6 separate regions of the Homo sapiens genome follow, and all the other regions are linked to region 3. The links are contacts of gene promoters, found by promoter capture Hi-C in blood cells and fetal thymus (Javierre and others, 2016). All regions are on one chromosome and are shown on one strand. The core of a region is centred on a gene start or on the middle of the fragment in contact, and the rest is flanking DNA. Distances in the headings are between cores, read along the strand shown.

Region 1 (4,670 bases), core at 1,100-3,599, 3.8 Mb before region 3:
GGATTTTGCCTATTTTAGATATTTCATATACATGGAATCATACAATATGTGGCCATTTGTGTCTGGCTTTTTCCCCTTAGCATCATGTTTTCAAGGTTCATCCATGTTGTTGCATGTATGAGTACCTCATTTCTTTTTACAGCTGAGTAGTATTTTGTTGTATGGATATACAACATTTTGCTTATCATTCATCAGCTGATGGACATTAGTTATTTCTACTTTTTGGTTATCGTGAATAATGCTACTATGAACATTTGTGAGCAAGTTTTTCTTTGAACACCTGTTTTCAATCATTTGGGATATATACCTGCATCCCATGGTAATTCTATGTTTAACTTATCGAGAAACTGCCAAACTGTTTTCCAAGTGGTGGCACCATTTTACATTCTCACCAGCAATGTATGAGTGTTCTCGTCAACACTTCTTATTGTCTATTTGTTTGAGTATAGTCATTCTAGTGGGTTTGAAGTGGTATCTCCTTGTGGTTTTGATTTGCAATTCCCTAATGACATTGAGCATCTCTTTATGTGCTTCATGGCCATTTTTAAACTTCTTTGAAGAAATAGCTCTTCAAGTCCTTTGCTCGTTATGGGTTGTTTATTTTTTTGTTGTTAAGTAGTAAGAGTTGTTCACATATTCTGGACAGTAGACCTTTATCAGATACATGATTTGCAAATATTTTCTCCCATTTTGTGGGTTGTCTTTTTGTACTTTTGATTATGTCCCTTGAGGCAAAAATTTTCCAATTTTGATGAAGTCCAATTTATCTATTTTTCTTTCATTGCTTGTGTTTTTGGTTTCATAGCCAAGAAACAATGGCCCAATCCAAGGTCATGAAGATTTACTCCTATGAGTTCTTCTAAGAGGTTTAGGGTTTTAGCTCTTATATTTAGGTCTATTTTGAGGTAATTTACTTGTTATTTTCATAACATTTTGAGTCAATTTCCTTGTTATTTATTTCTAATTTCATTCTATTTTGACCTAGAATATACTTTATATGATTTAAATCTTTTAAAATTTACTGTGATTTGTTTTGTGGCCTAACATGGTTTAGCCTTGAGAATGATCCATGTGCACTTCAGAAGAATAGTGTTGAATAAAGTGCTCTACAGATGTCTATTATGTCTAGTTGGTGTATGATGCTCTTCAAGTCTTCTATTTTCTTCTTGATCTTCTGTCTAGTTATTCTATCCATTTTGAAAATGAAATATTGAAGTCTCAACTATTATTGTTGATTTGTCTATTTCTCCATTTAATTCTGTTAGTTTCTGTTTCGTGTACTGTGGATTCTCTTATTAGATGCACATATGCTTATTTTTTATTTTGTCACCAAGGCTGGAGTGCAGTGGCGTGATCATAGCTCACTGCAACCTCGACCTCCTGGGCTCAAGGGATCTTCCCACCTTAGCCTCCTGAGTAGCTAGAACTACCAGCACACGCCACTACACCCGACTAATTTTAAAACTTTTTGTAGAGACAGGGTCTTGTTTTGTTGCTGAGGCTGGTCTCGAACACCTAGGCTCAAGTGACCCTCCCATTTTGGCCTCCCAAAGTGTTGGGATTACAAGGGTGAGCCACTGCACTTGGCCCACATATGTTTATAATTGCTATATGTTATTGATGCATTGTTCCTTTTATGACTATAAAATGTCCTCTCTAGTAACAATTTTTGTCTTACTGGCTGTTTTGTCTGATATTTCTATAGCTACTCCAGTTCTCTTTTGATGACTATTTGCATGGAATATCTTTTTCCATCTTTTCACTTTCATCCTATTTGTGTCTTTGGACGTAAATTGAGTCTCTTGCAGATATTATATAGTTGGAGTCTGTTTTTTAATCTATGCCACTAACTCTGCCTTTTAACTGAAGAGTTTAATCCATTTACATTTTAAAAAACTGGTAAGTAAGGCCTTGCTTCTGCCATTTTGTTGTTTATTTCCTTTATATCATATCTGTGTCTTCTCTTATGTTTAATTGATTTTTCTAGTGTATTATTTTGATTCTCATTTCCTTTTATGAATGTATATTTTTAGTTATTTTGTTAATGTTACCTTGGGGGTTATAATTAACATCCTAAATTTATAATAATTTAGTTTGAATTAATACCAATTTAGCTTAAATAATGTACAAACACTGTGTTCCTATGTAGCTCCACCTTCTCCCTTTATGTTGTTATTGTCATACATTATATCTTTATACATTGTGTGTTCATTCAGATACATTTATAATTATTGTTTTATGCATTTGCCTTTTAAATCATGTAGAAAAAAAGTGAGTGACAGGCCGGGTGCGGTGGCTCACGCCTGTAATCCCAGCACTTTGGGAAGCCGAGGTGGGTGGATCACCTGAGGTCAGGAGTTCGAGACCAGCCTGGGCAACATGGTAAAACTCTGTCTCTACTAAAAAAGACAAAAATTAGCCAGATGTGGTGGCATGCACCTGTAGTCCCAGCTACTCAGGAGGCTGAGGCAGGAGAATCACTTGAACCCAGGAGGTGGAGGTTGCAGTGAGCTGAGATCATGCCACTACACTCAGCCTGAGCAACAGAGCAAGACTCCGTCTCAAATACAACAACAACAACAACAACAAATGAGTGACAAACAAAAAATACAATAATACTAGCTTTTATGTTTACCTATGTAGTTTCCTTACTGATGTTTTTATTTTTTATTTTTTTGTATAGCTAGAGTTACTTGTGTTCTTTCATTTCTTCCTGAATAATTTCCCTTAGCATTTCTCATAGGGCAGGTCTACTAGAAGCAAACTTCCTCAACTTTTGTTTGTATGAGAATGTCTTGATTTCTTTCAGTTTTTTGTTTTTATTTTATTTTATTTTTTGAGACGGAATCTCAGTCTGTCGCCCAGGCTGGAGTGCAGTGGCGAGATCTCGGCTCACAGCAGCCTCCGCCTCCCAGGTTCAAGCAATTCTCCTGCCTGAGCTGGGATTACAGGCGCCTACCACTATGCCAGCTAATTTTTGTATCTTTAGTATAGACAGGGTTTCACCATGTTGGCCAGGCTGGTCTCCAACTCCTGACCTCAGGTGATCCACCTGCCTCGGCCTCTCAAAGTGCTGGGATTACAGGTGTGAGCCATCGTGCCTGGCCTTATTTTTATTTTTTGAGACAGAGTCTTGGTCTGTTGTCCAGGCTGGAGTGCAGTGGCATGATCTCAGCTCACTGTAATCTCCACCTCCCAGGTTCAAGTGATTCTCCTGCTTCAGCCTCCCAAGTAGCTGGGATTACAGACATGTGCCATCACGCCCAGCTAATTTTTGTATTTTTAGTATAGACAAGGCTTCCTCATGTTGGCCAGGCTGGTCTTGAACTCCTGACCTCAGGTAATCCGCCTGCCTCAGCCTCCCAAAGTGCTGAGATTACAGTGGGATTACAGGTGTGAGCCACTGTGCCTGGCCTTCTTTCAGTTTTGGTGGAGAATTTTATTGAATACAGGATTCTTGATTAACAATTGTTTTTCTTTCAGGGTTACTATACATCATCCCTCATTCTGATAAATCAGGGAATAATCTTATTAAGGATCACTTATATGTAGTGAGCTGCTTCCCTCTTGCTGCACTCAATATTTTCTATGTTTCTTTGTCAACAATTTGGTTATAATCTGTTTGAGTGTGGATCTCTTTAGGTTTATTTTATGTGGAGTTTGTCGAGCTTCTTAGATGTGCATTCATGTCTTTATCACTTTTGAGGAGTTTTCAACCATTATTTCTTCAAGTATTTTTTTCTTTATAGCCCAGACCTTATAAGACAATATTTCTTCAAATATTCTTTCTGCTCCTTTCTTTCTCTCTTCTCTTTCTGGGACTCCCATTCTGTGTATGTTGGTATGCTTGAGGGTATCCCACAGGTCTCCTAGGCTCTGTTCAGTTTTCTTCACTCTTTTCTTTTTCTGCTCCTTAGACTGAATAATCTCAGTTGATCTATCTTCAAATTTGGTGATTCTTTCTTCTGCCTGCTCAAATCTGCTACTGAACCCCTCTTAGTGAATTTTTGATATCAGTTATTTTCAACTCCAGGTTTTCTATTTGGTTCCCTTTTTTATCATTTCTATATTTTTATTGATGTCTTCTATTAGGTAAAACATTGTTCTCTTGATTTTCTTTAGTTCTTTGTCCTTCACTTTCTTTGTGTCTTTGAGCATATTTAAGACAGTTGATTGAAAGTCTCTGTTTAGTAAGTCAAATATCTGGGCTTCTTCAAAGACAGTTTCTTTTTAAAAAAATTTTTTTTAAAGAGATGAAGTCTTGCTCTGTCACCCGGGCTGGAGTGCAGTGGCTCAATCTCAGCTCACTGCGGCCTTGAACTCGTGGGCTCAAGGAAGCCTCCCACCTCAGCCTCCTGAGTAGGTGGGACTACAGATGCACGCCACCATGTTCGGCTACTTTTTCTATTTTTTGGTAGACATGGGGTCTCACTATGTTGCCCAGGCTGGTCTTGAACTCCTGGCCTCAAGCAATCCTCCTGCCTCAGCCTCCCAAGGTATTGAGATTATAGGTGTGAGCCACCACGTCTGGCCAGTTTCTGTTAATTTCTACTGTTAATAGGCTGTACTTTCTTATTTCTTTGTGTACCTTGTAATTTCTTGTTGTTGAAAACTGGACATTTTGCATATTATAATGTGGCAACTCTGGAAATCAGATTCTTCCTCCTCCC
Region 2 (4,723 bases), core at 788-3,287, 3.1 Mb before region 3:
AGGCGTGAGCCACTGGCCTGGACATGTTATATTTCAAATGCCTAGAGTGTATCTCAGAGCTAGAGATACTTATACAGGAGTCACTGTTTTATAAGTTAATATTTTATTTTGGTCATTGTCAAATTATAAGCATAATAAAGTAGTTCACAGATTATATCTATTTATAACTAGGTTAGATGGACTTTGCTGATCTGTTACAGACAAACCTCTGATGCCCAGAATAAACAAAACCATATATGCAACAAAGGAAATATTATTTTAAGCAGGATTATTGCTAGCTATATGTATTACATACAACACAGTCACATTGCTCATATTCTATGAAAAGAAAATTAATAAACAAATAGACTTTATACAATAAAGCAAAATGCAGTGATCCAAAGAATCTATTCATTGAAGCCCACTGTTAACATTTGTGGTATTACAAGGACAGATAACTCACAGCCTCTGTGTCTGATGACCTTTGAATAAAATAACAGACATATTGTATATATAATTGAAGAGAATAAAAAACACATAATAAAAACATAATAAACACTTCAAAGCCTAAGTAGATTGTATAAGAATTTAACTTAGAGGAAGACAAGGTAGAGTCTTGCTAGGATGATTTTAGAAGGCTTTAAAGTCAGAGGAGACTTTTTTTGAGGAGAACCTTGAATTTTCATAGTAGGTTAAAGGGATGGCAATTTTAGGTGGAGAGAATGGTATTTGCAAAAATGCAGATGCAGCAGTCATAAGGATTATTCAGGCAATGGCAAATAAAATTGTTTAACTTCAGCATAAGAAAGACAATCACCCATTCACTCATTCAACACATATTTACAATAAATGCTTATTTTGTTCTGGGTACCAAGGACTGTTAAGTACATACTACTTTCATATCTTTCCCTCAGGGAATCCCCTCAGTCTGTTAGGCAAGATAGATATATATGGAGAAAGGTAAGGGGAATGTATATTTTTTGTTGCATGACATTTTGTTAAGCACCGAAGAAGGCATTTTGCATTTTTTTTCCCTTATTCAATTCCCATAAGACCCCTTAAGCTAGGGACTAAATGCCACATTCTACGTCAAGGGAAATGGAGTCTCTGATAGGTTAAAATTTATTATCCTAGTAAATTACAGTGTTAGAGTTTGTACCCATTTCTTCCATTTAAAAAACTATGCCACATTGAATAAATACAATATAACAAAACGTTTAATAAAGTCACATTATAAAATGTTATTTTTGCTTAGTCTTGCTTTGGCTGTGTGGGCTCTTTTTAGTTCTATGTGAATTTTAGAATTGTTTTTTATAACTGTGAGGAATGATGGTGGTATTTTGATGGAGATTGCATTGAATTTGTACATTGCTTTTGGCAGTATGGTCATTTTCACAATACTGATTTTATCCATCCATGAACATGGGATCTTGTTTCCACTTGTTTGTGTCATCTGTGATTTCTTTCAGCAATGTTTTGTAGTTTTCCTTGTAGAGGTCTTTCAACTCCTTTGTTAGGTATATTCCTAAGTATTTTATTTTATTTTTTGCACCTATTGTAAAAGTGGTTGAGTTCTTGATTTGATTCTCTGCTTGGTTGCTGTTGGTGTACAGAAGTGCTACTGATTTGTGTACATTAATCTTGTATCCAGAAATTTTGCTGAATTCTTTTTATCAGTTCTAGGAGCTTTCTAGAGGAGTCCTTAGGGTTTTCAAGGTAAACAGTCATATCGTAAGCAAACAAGTGACAGTTTGACTTCCTCTTTGCCGATTTGGATGCCCTTTATTTCTTTCTCTTGTCTGATTGCTCTGGTTAGGACTTCCAGTACTATGTTGAAGAGGAGTGGTGAGAGTGGGCATCCTTGTTTTGTTCCAGTTCTCAGAGGGAATGCTTTCAACTTTTCTCCATTCAGTATCACGTTGGCTGTGGGTTTGTCATAGGTAGCTTTTATTACATTGAGGTGTAACCCTTGTATGCTGATTTTGCTGAGAGTTTTAATCATAAAAGGATGCTGGATTTTGTCAAATTTTTTTTCTGCATCTATTGAGGTGATCATGTGATTTTTGTTTTTAATTTTGTTTATGTTGTGTATCACACTTATTGACTTGAGTGTTAAACCATCCCCGCATCCCTGGTATGAATCCCACTTGATCATGGTGGATTATCTTTTTGATATGTTGTTGGATTTGGTTAGCTAGTATTTTGTCAAGGATTTTAGCATCTATGTTCCTCAAGGATATTGATCTGTAGTTTTCTTTTTTGGTTATGTCCTTTCCTGGTTTTGGTATTAGGGTGATACTGGCTTCATAGAATGAATTAGGGAGGGTTCCTTCTTTCTCTATCTTGTGGAATAGTGTCAAAAGGATTGGTACTAATTCTTGTTTGAATGTCTGGTAGAATTCTGCTGTGAATCCGTCTGGTCCTGGACTTTTTTTTGTTGGTAATTTTTAAATTACCATTTCAATCTTGCTGCTTGTTATTGGTCTGTTCAGGGTATCTAATTCTTCCTGATTTAAGCTAGGAGGGTTGTATTTTCTCAGGAATTTATCCATTTCTTGTAGATTTTCTAGTTTATGTGAGTAAAGGTGTTCGTAGTAGGCTTGAATGATCTTTTGTATTTCAGTGGTGTCAGTTGTAATATCTCCTGTTTCGTTTCTCAGTGAGGTTATTTGGATTTTCTCTCTTCTTTTCTTGGGTAATCTTACCAATGGTTCATCAATTTTATTTATCTTTTCAAAGAACCAGGTTTTTGTTTAATTTATCTTTTGTATTTTGTTTTGTTTTGTTTCGATTTCATTTAGTTCTGCTCTGATCTTGGTTATTTCCTTTCTTCTGCTGTGTTTGGTTTTTGGTTTGTTCTAGTTTCTCTAGTTGCTTGAGGTGTGACCTTAGATTGTTTGTGCTCTTTCAAACTTTCTGATGTAGGCGTTTAGGGCTATGAACTTTCCTCTTTGCACCGCCTTTGCTGTATCCCAGAGGTTTTTATTTTATAGGTTGTGTCATTATTGTCATCAGTTGGAAGAATTTTTAAATTTCCATTTTGATTTTGTTTTTGACTCAGTGCTCATTCAGGAGCAGGCTATTTAATTTCCGTGTATTTGCGTGGTTTTGAAAGTTCCTTTTGGAGTTGATTTTCAGTTTTATTCCACTGTGGTCCAAGAGAGTGCTTGATATAATTTCAATTTTCTTAAATTTATTGAGGCTTGTTTTGTGGCCCGTCATATGGTCTATCTTGGAGAAAGTTCCGTGTGTTGTTGAATAGAATGTGTATTCTGAGCTTGTGGACGAAATGTTACACTGTATTATATATTAGATATACTATATAATATAATTATATATATTATATATACTGTATGTATGTATAAATATTCTGTATACATCTGTTAAGTCCATTTGTTCCAAGGTATAGTTTAAATCCATTGTTTGTTGATTTTCTGTCCTGATGACCTGTCCAGTGCTGTCAGTGGAGTATTGAAGTTCCCCCACTATTGTTGTGTTGCTGTCTATCTCATTTCTTAGGTCTATTAGTAATTGTTTTATAAATTTGGGATCTCCAGTGTTAGGTGCATATATATTTAGGATTGTGATATTTTCCTTTTGGACAAGGCCTTTTACCATTATGTACTGTTCCTCTTTGTCTCTTTTAACCACTGTTGTTTTAAAGTTTTGTTTTGTCTGAAGTAGCTCCCCTGCTCACTTTTGGTGTCCATTTGCATGAAATGCCTTTTTCCACCCCTTTAAGTTTATGTGAGTCCTTATGTGTTAGGTGAGTCTCCTGAAGGCAGCGGATAGTTGGTTGGTGAGTTCTTATCCATTCTGCAGTTTTGTGTCTTTTAAGTGAAGCATTTAGACCATTTACATTCAATGTTAGTATTGAAATGTGAGGTACCATTGCTTTCATCGTGCTATTTGTTGCCTGTGTACTTTGGCTTTGTTTTTTGTTTTTGCCTTTTTTTTTTTTTTGAGATGGAGTCTCGCTCTGTTGCCCAGGCTGTAGTGTAGTGGCACAATCTTGGCTCACTGCAATCTCTGCCTCCTGGGTTCACGCCATTCTCCTGCCTCAGCCTCCTGAGTAGCTGGGATTACAGGCGCCTGCCACCATGCCCGGCTAATTTTTTGTATTTTTAGTAGAGACGGGGTTTCACCGTGTTAGCCAGGATGGTCTTGATCTCCTGACCTTGTGATCCGCCCGCCTCAGCCTCCCAAGGTGCTGGGATTACAGGCGTGAGCCACTGTGCCCCGCCTTTGTTTTTGCTTTTTAACCTGTATTTTCGTTTTATAGGTCCTGTGTGATTTATGCTTTAAAGAGGTTCTGTTTTGATGTATTTCCGGGATTTGTTTCAAGATTTAGAGCTCCTTTTAGCAGTTCTCGTAGCGGTGGTTTGGTAGTGGTGAATTCTCTAAGCATTTGTTTATCTGAAAATGACTGTATCTTTCTTTCATGTATGATGCTTAGTTTTGGTGGATACAAAATTCTTGGCTGATAATTGTTTTATTTGAAGAGGCTGAAGACAGGTTCTCAATCTCTTCTAGTTTAAAAGATTTCTCCTGAGAAATCTGCTGTTAATCTGATAGATTTTCCCTTACAGGTTACTTGGTGCTTCTGTCTCACAGCTCTTAAGATTCTTTCCTTCGTCTTAACTTTGGATAACCTGATGACAATGTGCCTAGGTGAAGATCTCTTTGCAATGAATTTCCCAGGTGTTCTTTATGCTTCTTGTATTTGGATGTCTAGGTCTCTTGC
Region 3 (4,788 bases), core at 50-2,549:
TTATCATTTGTTTATAGAGGAAAGTAAAATGGCCAGACTTAATGATAAGGTGATCAGTGGCTTAGTTTTGCTAGTTCCAGCATGGTTATCTTTAGACTGATATTTTGGCTGAACTATAGAACACAGAACTTGCCAACATTTTTTAAAGCGAAGGAGTGTTTGCATCTTTCAGTTTGATGTAGTGGCCTGAGGTTCCCCCAAGTCCCTTTGAACTGTTTGCTCTTGAACCACATTTGTTTCTTATGCATTTGGAGTAATTGATGCGCTCCGAAAGGAAGAAGGAATAAGAGGGAGCATGTGAGATTAGTCTTCAACAGAAAGAACAAATCTAGTTGAAACAAAAGGAGAAAAGTGAGATCATCCAGAGGCGACTGTCACTCTCAACACACACAAAAGGCTTCTTTGGGCACATTGCAGACCTTCCCCCAAGGTATTCTGCAGAATAGCCGCCAGGCACCAACAACAAAGATGTGACTCGGGCATGAGATGATGGATAAGAGGGAACAGAGTAACAGAGGTTGTGTTCTTGAGACCTGTGTCATCTTGAAAAACGCCCTGAATTCAGCATTGTTTATATTCCTCGGGAATATGTTAGTGCCTGTAGGTGATCCATGTAAGAAATTCTGCGCGGTATCTGCCTGGTCTCTTACAAACACTCTGAATCCTACGTCCTGAAAAAGGTACAGAAGGATGTCAATCCCGGCTTCCCCTCCCAGGGAATCGTGGAAAACATACTATATCAATGCCTTGATGTGTCACCTTGTTTCATCCTTACACTAGGTCTGTAAAGCAAGTATACAGTGTCCTTGGTTGCAGTTCAGTCATTCGGCGTATATTTATTAAGCACATATTGCCTGTGAAGCACTGTGCTTCTGGGATACTGCAGCGAATAACACAGGTGCGATCCCTTCTCCTTTGGGGTTTACTTTCTCAGAGAAAAAAAAAAAAGAAATAAGTAGATAAAATAATTGCCAGGGAAATTGGGGTTATCATGGAAAGGTACAAGGAGTTTGAGAGAAGGAAAAAGAGAAGGGGCAGCCCAGCTTTCCACCTCTGCCTCTCCCGGGCACCCCCAGGCTCCATTCTCTCCTCCCTATACTCCTGCCCAGACAGCACCCACCTCCCCTTCCGCCCCCTTTTCCCTCCTTCTTTCCCTCCTCTCTCCGCTCCCTCTCTGACCTGCCGCCCCTCCCTCCGCTCCCCTGCCCTTTTGCTCGACCAGGGCCCCCGGGAGCCCTCTACCCCCACCCCATGGCCCAACCGTCCGGGCACGAGCCCCGCCCGAGCTCACCGCCCCTGCTCCCCTCTCCGACCCTTTGAGCCGTGGCCGTTGCCAGATGTCCACAATGGGAAACGAGGCCAGTTACCCGGCGGAGATGTGCTCCCACTTTGACAATGATGAAATTAAAAGGCTGGGCAGGAGGTTTAAGAAGTTGGACTTGGACAAATCAGGGTCTCTGAGCGTGGAGGAGTTCATGTCCCTGCCGGAGCTGCGCCACAACCCGTTGGTGCGGCGAGTGATCGACGTCTTCGACACCGACGGTGATGGAGAAGTGGACTTCAAGGAATTCATCCTGGGGACCTCCCAGTTCAGCGTCAAGGGCGACGAGGAGCAGAAGTTGAGGTTTGCGTTCAGCATTTACGACATGGATAAAGATGGCTACATTTCCAACGGGGAGCTCTTCCAGGTGCTGAAGATGATGGTGGGCAACAACCTGACGGACTGGCAGCTCCAGCAGCTGGTCGACAAAACCATCATCATCCTGGACAAGGATGGCGATGGGAAGATATCCTTTGAGGAATTCAGTGCTGTGGTCAGAGACCTGGAGATCCACAAGAAGCTGGTCCTCATCGTATGAGCCTTTTTCTTACAAGCACCACCCAACAACTTCTGCTTTCTTCCCTATCTCTTTCAAGATTTGCTCAAGACGTCCAACTGTCTCTCTGACTTATCTGGAAGTATTTCTTTTTGTGAAGCCATATGTCCTAACAGGAGCTTCATCACCAACTCAGTGCTATTAATTCTCCTTCTCTGAATGACTCAGGGTACCCTATAGGGGGAAGAGCAAGTCAAATGAGCATAGTGGGGAAAGAAAAGGAAATGGCTTTTATAAACATCTTTTACTTTGTTTTGATTCAAAGACCAAACTAGAACTTTAAAAGTTCAAAAATAAGAAAGTATACATTTTTGCTGTTATTTCTCATCATTTTGTATATGGGAGGAAATTTATAATTTGCATGGGTGTTAGGTGAACTGTTTTCATTTGCTTGTGTTCAGATATCTTGCCAGATTGTTAACTTCCTATTGTAGCAACAGGGACAAATATATTTGTCTTTGCTGGGCATCTCGTAATCACTTTTCTTAGGGGACAGAATCCCATCTTTTCCTTCGGCAGATTGCAGCCCCATTCCCCACAATGCATCCAGAAATCGCTGTGCATGTTTGAGGGGTAGGAGTTCATTTGGCCTCCTCCTGACTTGTTGCTCCAGCTCCTGAACAGAAACTAGCTTCAGGGCTCTTATAGGAAATGCTAAGCCTGGACTAAGTGCCCAGCTCAGCCATCATCCTCATTAGCAGTGGGTTTCCAGGGTTGGCAGCCCACACCAGCATTAATTTCAATGAAGGGGACCTCCAGCTAAATAGGGCAAGCAAAGTGTTCTCCCAGAAAGTGCTCTCACCTCCGACACTGGTCCCTACCCCCAGGTGGAGACAATGAGACATTTAGTTAGTTGTCCTACGGAGGAGAGGCAGTAGAGTCAGGCTGCAGTGGAATCTCCCTAGGATGCCAAAGTGGCATTATGTCTGTTGCTCACAGATGCAGAGACTGACAATTGTGTCTCCACAGCAGAGGTGGATGCTAGCTACACCAGCTATGCTGATTTTGAAAATCAGATCTGAGGCCTAGAAGAGAAACTGAGAGCTCTCTCATTCCAGGAAGCCTTTTCCCTAGTGGAACATTCAGTGCAGAAGTCCTCACACACTAACAGATCTCCACCATTGGGTGAGCCGGAGCCTGTGGTTCCAGGGGAGATCCAGAATGCATGTGTCTCTTCCCACGCATTTATGTCATGTTGGTAGCTTTAGATCAGCCATGGTGAGAAAAGAACAAAAGCTTTTAGTTGTTTTTGTTTTGTTTTGGAGAATTTGTTTACCAGTAAATACATCACTGCCTGTACCCCAAATGTTACCAGCTCCCTGAGGTGTCCCACATACTATTGTGAGTTCTCAGAGCATGAACTGTCCTCAGAAGAGCAGGGCTAGGACTTGTCCCAGCATCTGTGCCTCCATACCAATCCTCTTTCTCACAGAGAACCACTTCCCATATAAGATGCTTAAGGCTCTCAAAACAGCAGAACAATGAAACATACTCTCCCTACACTTGCTTAGCCAAGAGATACCACTCAGGTAACTTTTTTCAGGACATGGAAGATCTGTTTCAAGGAGATTTACTGCTATTTTATTTGGAAGAAGCTGGCAACTGGTCTTGACCAAAATAGAAAAAAAAAAAAAAAGTCCACAAATTTAATCACTTGTAGGGAACCCATCTATCAAGGTACCCTACCATATACTTTTGTATTTAATAGATTACTTAGAAACCACAAAAATAGGAATCCTTACCCCTTCAATTCCTGTTCAACCCTAAAAACTGTGATAAACGCTCCCAACCCTGTGGTGATCAGGGTTATGTAATGTTCAAAGATTCAGACACACCTGGGTTTGGATTCAGTTGCAACTGGGTTGTTATCACACTCACTTCTTTTTAGCTGTGTGAGCATGAATAATTTACTTAGCCTCTCTGTGTCTTTCCACCTAATTAAAGAGGATCCACCCCAGGGTTATTTTGAGGATTCAAAAAGGCATGCAACACACCTGGAGCACAATTCCACTTTCATTCAACTAATTCCCTTCCCTTCCCCCTTCTTCCCCTTCTACAAGATCAATATGTAAAGGAGACATGAGGCTTACTGGTTGCTTTTGAACACTTACTTAGTTCTTAGCTACACCCACTCTAAAATTAACTGGACATTAGTGTACAGCCCATGTCCAAGCCCAGAGAGAAAACAATGGGAACAATTTCAAGGTCCTCACCACTCCTTCATTTGCAGAGGGGACAACAGACTTTCTGACCTGAGAACTGGAGAATTTTTAAAACAAAATCTCTCATTCCAGCCCAACCTATTTAACTTTTTGTGGAGGAATTTTACATGGAGGAAGTGAGCACATGTCATGCTAGCCAAGAGGACATTATTGTCATTAAAGAGAGGCATTATTTATACACCCTGCAATGTGCACATTAAAATATGGAAATTTTAAAATTATGACCAAGGGCTTGAAACATATTGGATTACATGCTCACATTTAACAAAGAGAGGAAATGTGTTTCAGTTTCTGGAGTGGCTGGAATTTACAAGCTAATTGTTCAATAAATCTACTCAAGATAGTTACCTAAGGCTTTGTGGCAATGACCTTGAACTGAGAGCCTGTATCTGGATTTAGCACTTGAAAGATCTAACTGGATATTTGGGTTAAAAGAATCACATTTATTCCCAAATCGGAATGCTTTGTTTTTCCTGTCAGTTAATTGCCAGTTGCCAACAAATCTAGTTCTATACAGTTTCTTGGGATGATGATAATAAACATTTATTGAGCAATTGTCCCATAACTTTTGATATAACCTTTGTTATACATATCATTTAATCATCATAACAACACTGTGAGTCTGGTGCCATTATTTCAGCATTACAGATGATGCCATGTAGAGATCTAGCATCTTCTCCAAAGTCGCC
Region 4 (5,019 bases), core at 2,217-4,716, 3.0 Mb before region 3:
TGCATCTGAAAGTATCATCTCTCTTCTGTTGCTCAATAAGCTGCCAATCTGTACTCTTGGTCCAGAATGCAAAGCAGTCTGTTACCACCAAAGTTCTGATTCTGTGGCCATTTAAATCACAGCACTAATTCAGTTTGATTTTGTTCAGTTTAGCAAATGTTCATCCAATACTAATCATGAGTAGACAATGTTCTAGCATGGTCCCTGTCCCAGAACCTCTAACTAGGCATACTATTTGAAACACAAACACTTTATTACTTGTTCTTGAATATATCTTTGAATTTGTGAAAACGCAAATGAAGAGGAGCAATGAGTCTTTAGTTAATAGGAAGAATTTTGGCTTCTTATGCTTGCGAGTATTTTGGAGATGTTTGAATATTTTTAATTTTTTTTGTTGCTGGTAATGCATTTGTATGGTGACTTTAGATATAACATTTGTGAGATACACACACACATTTAGATTTTAGATGAATTAACTGAAATAGCCTCTATTTAAAAATGTCACCCTATATGTTCCTTGTTTTAAACTGCAATGGACTTTTTTTATAATGGTATAACACTGTTCACTGCAAAGTGAGTAGACTTTGGTATAATGCGCATCTATCTCATATCATGAATGTGATAAAAAATAGTTTGACTTAGATGAAAGGAGACTTGATATATGAGAAAGTGTGATTGATGAAATTCCAAAGATACTTGTGCAGCGGTTGATACTGGGGACAGAGACATAAAAGAACTTGAGAGAAGAACAAGTCAGTAGAAAATAAGAAGGAACAAAAATAGTGCTTACTACATGCTATGTACTTTACATGCTTTGCCTATTTATTCTCCCGAGAACCCCATTATAAGCCTATTAAGACCCCCATGTTATAGATGAAGATAGTGAGATTCAGAGAATTTATAAATTGCCCATGGTCACAGCTAGTAACTGGCCAAGAAAGGACTTAAGCACATGTTCTCTCTATTAGACAAAGTGGACTTGACACAATAATAGCTGCATCGTGGCAGTGGTTAGAAGAATGTGTCTTACCATGAAATTGCTTCTCAGTCATAATTTAACAGGGAATTGGAATTGAGGTGGCATTATTTATAACATAGAATTAAAAAAGTGAATCTAGGATTTAGATAAAAAAGGATGTATTTCTAGGGTATAAAAGGATCCCAAAGTATAAAAAGTGGAGTTGATGGAAATAAGGGCAAAATATGCTGAAAGGAGAAATACCCTTATAATGGCCAAAGGCAGAGCTGGTTAGTTAGAAGCTGGTTGAAATAAGTTCAAACAACTCAATTTAGACCTTAAACTTGTGCCAAGTTTTGTGAATAAAGAAAAATGGCCTATGTGTTAAGTGCCTGGTTTGTTTTCAGAAATTACTTTTGTTTTGTGAACTAAGTGGAAGATATTCATCAATGGACAATGATACTACTGGAAATTTGTTTGTGTAGAGGGGTAGTTGGGTGGGGAGAAATGACTGTTCCTGAGAAAAAATTAAAAGAGATAGCTTGAGACTTTCTGAGGCAAGTTTAAGCAAAATCCACCATTTCCAATTCCCAGGGAATGGCTATTTTCCAGTGGATATTTTCCTGCAGTATCACCTAAAGTGAGATGTGCTGTTAGAACATGTCTCTTTAGTCGTAGTCTTTCTTTGCATCATGTTCAATTGGACTTAGGCAGCAACCAATTAACATGGCAACTAAAAGGTGTTTGCATTAGAGAATGAGAAGACAAACCAGCTGCTGGGAGACAATATATGCAAATCACATGATAAATAACTCATATCCAAAATATATAAAGAACTCTCAAAACTCAACAAGGAAAAAAAATTAAAAATGAGCAATAGAACCAGCATGGTGGTGCATGCCTGTAGTTCTGTGTTCTGGTTAAGCTGGTAGTTACATGAATCTGTAGTCCCAGATACTCAGAGGCTGAGGTGGGAGAATGGCTTGAGGCCAGGAGTTTGAGGACAGCCTGGGAAAATAGCGAGACCCCCATTTGTTAACAAAAAAAGGGGGCAAAAGATACTTTACTAAAGAATGGAAAAACATCATCAGTCATCAAGGAAATGTAAAATAAAATCATAATTAAATATGACTATCTATTAGAATGGATAAAAAATTACTGACAATATTAAATGATGAGATGGGAAGCAAGTGGAACTCTCATACATTGTTGGTTGAAATGCAAAACTGGTACAGCCACTCTGGAAAACTGTTTGGCAGCTTCTTATACATTTAAACATGCTTATTGTCTCATTCCTGGATATTCTAAAAAAATGAAAGCTTATGGTTATACAAAAATTGGGGCAGAAATATTTATAGTAGCTCTATTCATAATTGCCCCAAACTGGAAACAATCCAAATATCCTTCAAAAGGTGAACAGATAGGCAAAATACAGTAATCTACTCAATAGAATACTATTTAGCAATAATAACTTGAATGGATCTCAGAGGCTTTATCTAAGTGAAAGAAGCTCAACCCCAGTGGCTCATATGATTCTATTTATATGTATTTATATGACATTATGGTAAACGTAAAACTATAGGGATAGAAAATATCAGTGGTTGCCAGGATGTACAGGTAAGTGGAAGAGGTGACTAAGAAAAGAATATCACAAAGAAGTGTTTTGGGGTAATAGAAGAGTTCTGTGTTCTGGTTATGGCCGTGGTTATATGAATCTATACATGTTTTAAAATTCACAGAACCATACACTAGGAAATAAAAAGTCAGTTTATGGTATGACATCTAACTGTATGATAATTTTAAAAAACAACAAAAAAATTCCACCCCTAACCAAAGAAAAAGGTGTTTGCACTTTAACACGAAGATTTCATATTATTGGGCTTTACATGAATTGGTCGTGTTCTCTGGATAATCAGGAATGCAGTAATCACTGGTTGGGTTCATTTCTGATGATTCTCCCTCCAGATTGACACACTTCTTTCAGTGTTGGAATACATATGGGTTATTGTTGAGTTCTCCTGACCTGGGAGTGAGGTTTTAAAGTAAATTACCAAATCTCTTATGCAATACACTCTGTATTGCTTTTATAATTCATTAAAAAACCTCAGGCAAGTATGGGACACAAACAGGTAGTCTTGGAGCCTAGGCTTTGCTACACATTAGTTATATGACTTTAGGCTGAACTCTCTCACTTTAGGTTTTCTTATCTTTCAAATGATAATGTGGAGTTTAAATTAAGTAATGTGAAAAAAAATCACAAAGTTCCTGGCCAAGAATGAGTGATCAATATCATAAGCTTTCCCCTCATATTTCTCTTCCTGCATTGTTAATTCTTTTCATTCCATTTCCGTATATTCCTTCCTCCTCTTCCCTATTTTCTCTTTCTTCAATACTTTTATGGGTCCGTGGCAAATTTTTATATTTGTACATTGGTATACTTGGATTTACCATGTAAATAAATTATATTAATTTTTTTGACTTCTTACAGGTAAAAGAGAGACATTTAAATGGAATGGGAAAACCAAACCATTCTGGTGGAATTTTTTCTGAAGGGACATTCTGTTCACCCAAGGCTTGAGTTACTCTTTTTTGTGCTAATCTTCATAATGTATGTGGTCATCCTTCTGGGGAATGGTACTCTCATTTTAATCAGCATCTTGGACCCTCACCTTCACACCCCTATGTACTTCTTTCTGGGGAACCTCTCCTTCTTGGACATCTGCTACACCACCACCTCTATTCCCTCCACACTAGTGAGCTTCCTTTCAGAAAGAAAGACCATTTCCTTTTCTGGCTGTGCAGTGCAGATGTTCCTTGGCTTGGCCATGGGGACAACAGAGTGTGTGCTTCTGGGCATGATGGCCTTTGACCGCTATGTGGCTATCTGCAACCCTCTGAGATATCCCATCATCATGAGCAAGAATGCCTATGTACCCATGGCTGTTGGGTCCTGGTTTGCAGGGATTGTCAACTCTGCAGTACAAACTACATTTGTAGTACAATTGCCTTTCTGCAGGAAGAATGTCATCAATCATTTCTCATGTGAAATTCTAGCTGTCATGAAGTTGGCCTGTGCTGACATCTCAGGCAATGAGTTCCTCATGCTTGTGGCCACAATATTGTTCACATTGATGCCACTGCTCTTGATAGTTATCTCTTACTCATTAATCATTTCCAGCATCCTCAAGATTCACTCCTCTGAGGGGAGAAGCAAAGCTTTCTCTACCTGCTCAGCCCATCTGACTGTGGTCATAATATTCTATGGGACCATCCTCTTCATGTATATGAAGCCCAAGTCTAAAGAGACACTTAATTCAGATGACTTGGATGCTACCGACAAAATTATATCCATGTTCTATGGGGTGATGACTCCCATGATGAATCCTTTAATCTACAGTCTTAGAAACAAGGATGTGAAAGAGGCAGTAAAACACCTACCGAACAGAAGGTTCTTTAGCAAGTGAATGCAAAATGTACTGGAGTGTGAACACACTTGATATTGTTGAAACTTCAGAATTATGTTAGAATTTTGGATACTTTTACTATTTTTCTGCATTTTCATATATTATGTTAAAATAATGAGATACAGCATTTCAAAATTATTGCATGTCCACTCTAGAGAATTTGCAAGATACAGGGCAGTAGGATGAAGAAGACAGAGGGGCTACCTATTACTCTAATAGTGGGAAATGGCTACTTTTCAACATTTTGAACAGTATCTTTCGTATTATGGTTTTTAAATTTTTGCTGTATTGGAATTGGGTGTGATGTGCCTTTTTATGTTCACTTTTCTACATAATGTTATTTCATAGGCAACATTTCATTGACTCTTTCAAAATAAATAAAGCCCTCTGTTGTAGAAAAAGCAAAACAGAAAAAAACCCAATATACTGCACTCACATTTTCCAGTGGCAAGCCTTGTGTTATAGTTTCACATTAATCTCCAGATCCTGTTGAGTCATTAAATACTATTTTCTTGTTCTGTATTTAAATATTTTTGTGTGAAGCTGAGTATTTGGGACTATCAAGGGGCAGGAGATAAATAGAGTTTAAAAGCAGGG
Region 5 (4,397 bases), core at 1,773-4,272, 3.1 Mb before region 3:
AATATTTAGATCTACCAATCTTAAAAGGGAAAAGTAGATTTAGCTTTTTAAAGGTAAAAGGTTTAAAGTTTGAAACCACACTTGACAGACTGTGAACATTTTTGTTCTCAGTGGGATATTTCATTGCACTTCTTTCAAAAACCTGTTAGGAGTCTGAGAATCATTGGAGGACTGTTCTAGAAGCTTCCAGAGATTAAGGAGTCTAGGTCCCAGCATGTACAGCTTTTTTTCCAGGCCCTGGGATTCTCTCTTCTTAAGTGTAGTATTACTGCCATTTTACAAAGTAGGAAACAGAGACAAAGAAAAGTTTAAGTAACTTTCTCAAGGTCATACAGATAGTAAATACTAAAGCCAGAATTCAATATCTAGCCATCTGGCTATAGAATCAGCCCTTTTACCCACCATACACTACTCTCTCTCAGTGGTTACTACACAGATTCCACGCAAGAGAAGACTATTACAAAAATGTATCTTCTGTTGGGGTACAGTGAGACAGCAAACATCATTTACTTGTGATTCTGATCATATGTGATGTGATGGAGAACTCTGAAGGCTGGACCACTTACTTTTTCCTGTAGCTTTTGATTGTGGTCTGCTCAGTTTTCTTTTCTTTTCTCTCGCTGTTTTTTTTTTTTTTTTTTTTTTTTAAGACGGAATCTTGCTCTGTTGCTTGGGCTGGAGTGCAATGGCGCGATCTCAGCTCACTGCAACCTCCACCTCCCACATTCAAGCGATTCTCCTGCCTCAGCCTCCCGAGTAGCTGAGATTACTGGCATGCTCCACTACACCTGGCTAATTTTTGTATTTTTAGTAGAGACGGGGTTCATATCATATTGGCCAGGCTGGTGTCGAACTCCTGGCCTCAAGTGATCCTCCCACCTTGGCCTCCCAAACTGCTAGGATTACAGGCATGAGCCACCCTGCCTGGTCTGCTCAGTTTTCTATGTGTAGAAGGCGATTTCACAGCTATGAAAAAAAGCATGATCAAGAATAATGATACAAAAGTCCTTTTCATCACCTTTGCCTTTTTCTTTTCTTTCTTTGTTTTTCTTTTGAGACAGAGTCTCACTCTGTTGCCCAGGTTGGAGTGCAGTGGTGTAATCTCAGCTCACTGCAACCTCCGCCTCCCAGGTGCAAGTGGTTCTCCTGCTTCAGCCTCCCAAGTAGTTGGGATTACAGGCGCATACCACCACACCCAGCTAATTTTTGTATTTTTAGTAGAGATGGGATTTCACCATGTTGGCCAGGCTGGTCTTGAATCCCTGACCTCAGGTGATCCACCCTCCTCAGCCTCCCAAAGTGCTGGGATTACAGGTGTGAGCCACCATGCCCAGCCCACCTTTGCCTTTATCAGTAACATATCAAAAATACCACAGCCCCTGCCCTCACTCTGCAAATCTAAATGCAGCATAGAGTCTTTTGAGAAACTACTCCCATTTATAACATTAGTGCCACATCTTTGAAAACTCAATGTGCTCCATTCGTTTCATATTCATTACATTGATATGTCCAAGTATTGTGTTAAGATGTCTTATATAAAGGGCTGTTTCTCATACATTGTTACACTATTACCACAAGAACTATATCTATGCTGGGCTCTCCTTGTGGAATGAGAATATTTCTTACTGATCTTATTCTGACCCTACAACCACACTTTTGCTTTGGCCTTTTCATATCCAGAGACTTTGAAGACAGGATGAATGCTTACTCTCTGGGTAGTCATAGATGGCAAGCCCTCCTAGCTCCCTGTTGCATAATGATGAAAAATGTAGTATTATGGGGAGACTAGAAGAAACTCAGCATGGTCTTTGCAGACCATTTGGGGCATCAGTAGTGGCTCCAGGGAGTAGTGGAGTACTGGCTCCAGGGAGATGAAGGGAAAAAGTTTCTCCATTCCCTTTCCATATCCTTTGTCTTCCTCTTAGAGAGTACTACCTACACCATGATTTGGGAGGAGATTAAAAAAAATTAGATGATACCAATGTGTTGGTATGTTGGAAAATATTCCCTTTGTCTTGCACTTCTTTTTCCTGTCTCTATCTACATTGGCATATGGATTTGTTCCCACAAAGTGGGCAGTTACGGTAGCCGTTTTAATTAGATAGAGCATAGCTGTTTTGAAGTAGAGGAAAGTGGAAGGAAAGAAGAGGTGGAGAAGAAACAAATTTGTGCTAGCATAGAAAGAACACTAAACTTACCACTTGTATCTTGGGCGATGGTGTTGTGCTAAACCCCTATTAATCTCAATAGGGGCGGCACCAGGTGCAAAAGGCCAAGAGACCCAGAGTCAGCAAATGAGACATGGGGTTTATTAGGGAATTACATACAGGGAGAGAGTCCAGGGGTGGTGGGCTGGACAGAAAAACCACAACTACCTGTAAAATCATGCAGTTTTATATGGCATTTTCACTTAATCCTCTCCTTAACAACCTCCACCTGGCAACCTTCATCCAACCAAAAGCTTAGGGACCCAATTCCCTGCACGGCCCATGTTTGGGACAGGCTGTTTATCACAGAGAAAGAACAAATCTCTGGGTTGGCTACTCCTAGATTCCCTAGATCAGAACACACATTCGGGTGCCTCTGTCATTACAGTGTCATTCTAAGGGTATGCTTTATGTGTTTACCCTATAGGTGGGGATGTCGAGGATACAAAGATGAAGGAAGAAGAATGGCTGTCTTTCTTTCTATTCAGAAAAGATCCCAGGTGAAGAAGTCCATGTTTCAGAATTTATTTTAAATTTTAATTTATTCTTTTCAGCTTATATGTGTTAGTGAAATATTTCAGGATTTAGATCAAAACAAGAGAAAGGGAAACGGTAACTTCGCCAAAGACACTGAATCAACCCATTACACAGGCCTATCCTAACCTATTAGGTATCTTTCTCCAATTCATACCATGTCTCCTCCCATGACTGTGTTAAGGAGGAATTATTAGGAGGACTTTGTTTCCCCATGATCGCCATCAGTCTCCTCACAAAAGACATCCTAATAGAGAAATACAACTTAAAGGAAAATATGTGCTTGCTCTGCAGCTTCAACGAAAGTCCTCTAGTTCATCCTCTAATCACATTGTCAACTCTGGTTCTCTCTAACTCTGGAGCCACTACTGATGTCCCAAATGCTCTGCACTGACCATGATGAGTTTTGCTCAGTCTCCCCATAATACTGCATTTTCTTTCTTTTTTTTTTTTTTTGTTCTTTTTTTTTTTGAGACAGAGTCTCACTTTGTCACCCAGGCTGGAGTGCAATGGTGTGATCTTGGCCCACTGCAACCTCTGCCTCCTGGGTTCAAGTGATTTTCCTGCCTCAGCCTCCCGAGTAGCTGAGATTATAGCCTCCTGCCTCCACACCCAGCTAATTTTTGTATTTTTAGTAGAGTTGGGGTTTCACCATGTTGGTCAGGCTGGTCTCGAACTCCTGACCTCAGGTGATCCGCCCGCCTCGGCCTCCCAAAGTGCTGGGATTACAGGCATTGAGCCACTGCGCCCAGCTTGCATTTTCATCATTATGCATTTGTGTGTGGCGTCTTCTTAAACTGGAAGGATTGTTCTTATCTATTACCTTTTCTAGGAAAGCTTTCTCACCTACTATTGTGAGGAGGATGCCCTTTTTATATACTGTCATAAAACTGTGCATATCTGTCTTACAGAATTCTACATTTATTCAACAGAAACTATGCCATGTATACTATGGTAGGTAATAGAGATCCTATTGTGAGATCTTGACTTTCAAAATCAAGACTGGATTTTGCACTGGATGCAGAATGCTTACAATAGTTATTTCACACTTTCAAGAAAAAATTTCTGTGCTGTATAATATGTTTCAATGTGAAAAAGTTATAGAACATTTTGTAGAAACATTTTATCAAGCAAAAATAGCCTTGTTTTCCCAAACTTTCAAAGATAGACGAAAACTGTAGATAATCTTATTTATGAATGTATATGGTATAACCATAATTAAAGTACATCCAAACTGTATATACTAAAGTGATACAATTTATTTCATGGATTAATAAAATTCCAAATTAATATTTGAAAATCTATCAACATACTAAACAAATAAGCAAAAAACCCAACACATGGTCTTCTAACAAGACGCTAAAGTGCATTTGGTAAAATACAACATTCACTCTTGGTCAGACCTCTGAGTAATCTAGATACAGGAAGATCGAGAATTAAGATGATAAAGGAGATTATTACTCTCAAATCATTGGGCAGCATAATTCAAAATGGTGAAACTGTAGCAGTGTTTTTTCTTAAAGTTTGCAAAGATAGTGTTAGCACTATTATCAACAATTTTTCACTAGAATGAGCCAACCAAATGGAATAGCATATCCATGGGTTGGATCCATATGTCCTATTATGTTTCAAGTTTAATCATGGTTTAAAAGGTTG
Region 6 (4,770 bases), core at 910-3,409, 3.1 Mb before region 3:
ATGTCTACATTTTTAAAATAACACGGCTGGGTGTGATGGCTCACGTCTGTCATCCCAGCACTTTGGGAGGCCGAGGCTGGCGGATCATGAGGTCAGGAGTTCGAGACCAGCCTGGCCAACATAGTGAAACCCGGTCTCTACTAAAAATACAAAAACAATTAGCCGGGTGTGGTGGTGAGTGCCTGTAATCCTAGCTACTCGGGAGGCTGAGGCAAGGAGAATTGCTTGAACCTGGGAGGCCAAGGTTGCAGTGAGCCGAGTTTACGCCACTGCACTCTAGCCCGGGCAACACCGCGAGACTCTGTCTCAAAACAAAACAAAACAAAACAAACAAACAAAAAAACCACCCAAGCTACTGGAGAATGACTTGTAGCAGAACAAGAATGAAAGCAAGGAGATGACTTTGAAAGCCATTTCAGTAGTGTAGATGTGATAACAGTAGCTTGGACTAGAGTGGTAGCAACTGAAGTATTCAGGTTCAGTATAAATTTTGAGTCAAACTGACAGAATTTTCTGGTGCATTGGATTTGTATAAGTGGTTTTACATTTCCTGAGGTAGGGAAGATGAAACCAAATGAGGATAGAGAGAATCAACAGTTCTGTATTGAACTCATTATCTTGATACACTTATTAATTATCTAAGTGGAAATGTGCAGTAGGAAGTTGAATATATGAATCTGGATGTTAGGGAAGTCAGGAATGGAGATACATATGTAGGAATTACTGGTTTATAGATTAATATTTCTTCTTGTTAAATAATGACCTTAAGAAAGTAGCTCTGGGATTCTTATCTGTGTTTAATTCAGTTAGATAGACTCTGCCTGACCTATTATAGTCGCGGTTGTTACACTCAGGTGAGACAAAACCAGGTAAACAACACTGAAACACATTGTTTTTTTAATTGACAGAGTCTCACTGTGTCACCCAGGCTGGAATGCAGTAGGCAATATTGGCTTACTGCAACCTCCGCCTCCTGGTTTCAAGCAATTCTTATGCCTCAGCCTCCCTAGTAGCTGGGACTACAGGTGCACGCCACCACACCCAGCTAATTTTTTTGTGTGGGCTTTTTGTTTGTTTGTTTGAGACTGAGTTTCGCTCTGTCACCAGGCTGGAGTGCAGTAGTGTGATCTCGGCTCACTGCAACCTCTGACTCCCAGGTTCAAGTGATTTTTCTGCCTCAGCCTCCCAAGTAGCTGGGACTACAGGCACCCACCACCACGCCTGGCTAATTTTTTTATTTTTAGTAGAGACAGGGTTTCACCATGTTGGCCAGGATGGTCTCGATCTCCTGACCTTCTGATCCACCTGCCTTGGCCTCCCAAAGTGCTGGGACCACAGGTGTGAGCCACCACACCTGGCCTTTTGTGTGTTTTTAGTAGAGATGGGGTTTCACCATGTTGGCCAGGCTGGGCTCAAACTCCTGACATCAAGTGATCTGCCTGTGTTGGCCTCCCAAAGTGCTGGGATTACAGTTGTGAGCCACCACACCTGGCCTGAAACACTGTTGAAGAGAATGCTGTCTCAACTGGGCTTATTGCTAGTTGTGTGTATTCCCTGTAACATCATACAAGACACAACCTTCAAAAGAAAAATGCCTGTTTAAAAAAGTTGAATACACAAATTGCACTGATCCAAATTATCAACGTGTTAATTGTGGAGATTACAAAGACCAGTAACTCTACTTCTAATGACCTTTCAATAAAGCAGGATATACAAACAACACACAAATAGAAAATAAATCTTCATATTATAAATATTATGAAAGATTGCTAAACAAATCCAATTTAGTTAAAATGATAAGTAGGAGCTTCAAGGCAGAGGAGGCTTTTGAGGAGGGTCTTGGATTGTGATAGATTAGAGAGATTTTGATTTTAGATAGAGAGAATGGCATGAACAAAGATGCAGAGGCAGCAATGATTGGCAAGGCTTATTCTAGTAATGGTAACTAAGCTTGCTTAGCTTCAATGTGTGAAAAGCAATCATGCCTTCATTCATTCAACAAAGAACTATAATGAACATCTATTTCCTGAGGACTCCACTTTACGTCTTTAAATTTTATGTTCCTGGTGAACTACAGAGTTGGGATTTTTATCCATCTCTTCCTGATTTCTAAAATGTGTGCTTTCAACTACATCCCTCTGAATAAATAGTATACAATATATAATACAAATTATAAAAGAGGCACAAAGAAGCATATAGAAACACTGAAGTGGGAGAAGTGATTTTTTCCTGGAGGGTTTAGTAAAGGCTTCACAGAAGAGGTGACATTTGAGTTTAGCGACAGTGCGACAGAAAAAATAACCCTTGATTTGGGAATATTAATGTTCAACTCTTCTCAAAATCCATCTATCAAAAGAGCAGAAGCTTCCAGTTATTGATCTTTATAATCTTCAAAATAATTAAAAATGTGAGATACAATCAATATATATCCTAGCTCACTGACATAAGCCTCAATACTTAAAGTCTGTTTTTTCCCTTGTTTTAAAACTTACCATCCCCTGAACTGCTGGTCCAAGGAAGAGAAATTTTATTTTACCTGATAAAAGATATTTACATCAAAAGAATATTATCATATGAAATGAAAGCAAGAGAGAGGGAGGAAAAAAAAAAAAAGCAAAGCTGGAAAATGGAGAGATGCTCCAAAACAGCTGGGGGATATGATGCCAGTGGATAAAAGAAAAAGTAATTCTTATCAGTGTTACTGTGGTAGGAAATATTTGGATTCCTTCCATGGTTTTTAAGAAAGTTAAGTAGAGGTTGAAAATTATTTTGATTGCTTGACTGTTTCCTTTTTGAGAATGAGCCATGGAAATTTCAGCTTTGTAAGCATGTAATAATAACACTAGTAATACTGTTAATCATGAAAGACATCTATTAAAGTCTTAGGAAATGCATTGGGTTCTGTATTTAGTGGGTTCTCTATCTAGTTATTTGTTGAAAATGCTCAATTTATAAGTGCTATAGCATGTTGAATGCTTTAATGGAACACATCTCAGATCGTGGAAAACAGAGAAAGCACCCCCAAAGCTCCTCAGAGTTAATAGATATTACTATTTTAATACTGCATATTGATTTTATTTGTTTCAAATATCATGTATTATGTATACCTTTAACCAATATTATATTGCTTGAAGTTGCACCTTCTTCATTCTCCATGCTAAATATTCCATTATTCTACTTGTGATAAACATTTATATTTTTCTAGTGTTTGTATAAGGTATGAATAGTGCTTTTATTAACATACTTATATGCATCTTTGGTGTAAATTTGTATATAATCACTCTATTGAATATATAGTTTAGAAAGAATTCTGAGTTATAGGGTATGCAAATACTTAGCTTCATACACATCTCCAGTTCTATAAAGTATTGGTACCAATTTAAGCTCCCACCAGCAGTATGTAAGAACTTAAGTTGCTTTACATCTTTGGAAACACTTGGTATTATCTCTGTTTTTCATTTTAGCTGTTGTGGTGGGAGTGGTAGCATATTATTTTATTTTTTTATTTCCCTGAAGTTAAGCATTTTTCATACATTTATTGCATATTCAAATATCCTTATTTGATGAAATGTACATTCACTTTTTTTTTGGTCCATTCTTCTACTAGGTTGTCTTTTTAAAATGGATTTTAAATGATTTTTCATATCTTATTTATATGAATCCTTTGTTAAAAATATTTATTTAAAAAATATTTTTCCTTTCTGTTTATGTTCTTAATGATGACATCTAATGAATAGAAGTTATTAATTTAAATATAATTAGACCAATTCACAATCTTTTCTTTGTGGTTATTCTTCTATATATTCTTCTAAAAGAATACTTCTACGTATTATTCTAAAAGATGTATTGTTCCATTTTTCATATCTAAATCTGTAATCAATCTTGATTTGATTTTTGTGTATAAAGTAGGGGCCAAGATTAAATTTTTTCTTTTTGGATATTCAATTGATCCCCTATTAGCTTCTTTAGTTGCACATTTTTACCTTAAAATATTATTAACAGATTAAGAAAATTGAGGCTTAAGTAACGGGCCCAAAATCATGCAGCTTTTATTTGACAGAGGCTTACCATGATCAGATTGATTTTTTGGAAAGATAACGCAGACAAAATTATGGAGAATAGACTGAGGTGCTAGCGATGGTGTTGAAAATGAAGGTAGAAAGGCCAACTGGGAGTACCTTGCAGTAATCAAATGGAGGCATAATGTGGAAATAGTACTAAGAATAGCTGGAGGGTAGTTAACAGATGTGAAAGATGTCTAGGAGTCCAACTTTATAAGTTTTGATAGTTTAGATTTGGTGGTGCCATTAATCAGTTAGGAATTGCAAGGGAAGTCAACAATATAACACTTGCATTCTGAGTGGTTAAAAATATGCCAGGTACTGGCCTTAATTCTGTAATTACAGTGATTAACAAGAGCAAGATGGTGCTTATTCTTAAGGTGCTTGCTGTTTGGCCAGACACAGATAATTAAACACGTGATTGCAATAATGTGTGATAAGTGCTGTATTAAGGGAGATATAGGATGTTATCAGGGCACACAGGAGGGTTGCCTAACTCAGACTAGGGGTCAGGAATGACATCTTCAGGAGATTCTGGGAGAAGGATAATAGCAATTAAGCAAGAAAAGGAAGAGTTCCCTACCCTCTGCATATGCTATGCTATTCTTTCTCCCTCAAAAATTCTCCATTTGCTCTTTGTTTTCTAGAGAGAGAGGAGGGGGGTGGTGGGGGAAGGTGGTATATTCTAAAAATTAAAAGAAGCTCCATT

What was found. Contacts are between HindIII fragments. The CHiCAGO score rates a contact against its expected background, and 5 or more counts as called.
Region 1: a contact is called between a fragment that was not itself captured here and the fragment with the promoter of PPP3R2 in region 3, in 1 of 17 cell types (naive CD8 T cells). The highest score is 5.4, in naive CD8 T cells.
Region 2: a fragment that was not itself captured here is called in contact with the fragment with the promoter of PPP3R2 in region 3 in 2 of 17 cell types (total B cells and naive B cells); the score reaches 13.7 in total B cells.
Region 4: a contact is called between the fragment with the promoter of OR13C9 here and the fragment with the promoter of PPP3R2 in region 3, in 1 of 17 cell types (endothelial precursors). The highest score is 8.2, in endothelial precursors.
Region 5: a contact is called between a fragment that was not itself captured here and the fragment with the promoter of PPP3R2 in region 3, in 3 of 17 cell types (naive CD8 T cells, M2 macrophages and total B cells). The highest score is 8.1, in naive CD8 T cells.
Region 6: a contact is called between a fragment that was not itself captured here and the fragment with the promoter of PPP3R2 in region 3, in 3 of 17 cell types (endothelial precursors, naive B cells and activated CD4 T cells). The highest score is 10.2, in endothelial precursors.

Annotation. Positions count from the first base shown.
Region 1 is chr9:105,406,322-105,410,991 of GRCh38, reverse strand. It overlaps a transcript of SLC44A1 not described here. Among named protein-coding and RNA genes, the nearest start is that of FSD1L, 39 kb to the left of the region's middle. The HindIII fragment of the contact is 5,811 bases long and covers 1-4,670 here.
Region 2 is chr9:104,726,164-104,730,886 of GRCh38, reverse strand. The region is part of intron 1 of LOC107987105 (a long non-coding RNA gene); the gene reads left to right. Among named protein-coding and RNA genes, the nearest start is that of NIPSNAP3A, 19 kb to the left of the region's middle. The HindIII fragment of the contact is 9,199 bases long and covers 1-4,723 here.
Region 3 is chr9:101,591,480-101,596,267 of GRCh38, reverse strand. It overlaps PPP3R2 (protein phosphatase 3 regulatory subunit B, beta), which reads left to right and starts at 1,299. Exons shown (of 1, transcript NM_147180.4): 1 at 1,299-4,664. The coding sequence starts at 1,347. The coding sequence ends at 1,859. All of the region lies in intron 6 of GRIN3A (glutamate ionotropic receptor NMDA type subunit 3A), which reads left to right. LOC105376186 (a long non-coding RNA gene) reads right to left here and starts at 1,294. Exons shown (of 3, transcript XR_001746863.2): 1 at 1,180-1,294; 2 at 760-925; 3 at 453-671. The HindIII fragment of the contact is 3,598 bases long and covers 1-3,115 here.
Region 4 is chr9:104,616,651-104,621,669 of GRCh38, reverse strand. OR13C9 (olfactory receptor family 13 subfamily C member 9) reads left to right here and starts at 3,466. Exons shown (of 1, transcript NM_001001956.1): 1 at 3,466-4,422. The coding sequence starts at 3,466. The coding sequence ends at 4,422. The region is part of intron 3 of LOC107987105 (a long non-coding RNA gene); the gene reads left to right. The HindIII fragment of the contact is 920 bases long and covers 3,257-4,176 here.
Region 5 is chr9:104,689,445-104,693,841 of GRCh38, reverse strand. It overlaps LOC107987105 (a long non-coding RNA gene), which reads left to right. Exons shown (of 5, transcript XR_007061705.1): 2 at 2,635-2,707. Among named protein-coding and RNA genes, the nearest start is that of OR13D1, 2.9 kb to the left of the region's middle. The HindIII fragment of the contact is 1,117 bases long and covers 2,464-3,580 here.
Region 6 is chr9:104,669,749-104,674,518 of GRCh38, reverse strand. All of the region lies in intron 2 of LOC107987105 (a long non-coding RNA gene), which reads left to right. Among named protein-coding and RNA genes, the nearest start is that of OR13D1, 22 kb to the left of the region's middle. The HindIII fragment of the contact is 414 bases long and covers 1,953-2,366 here.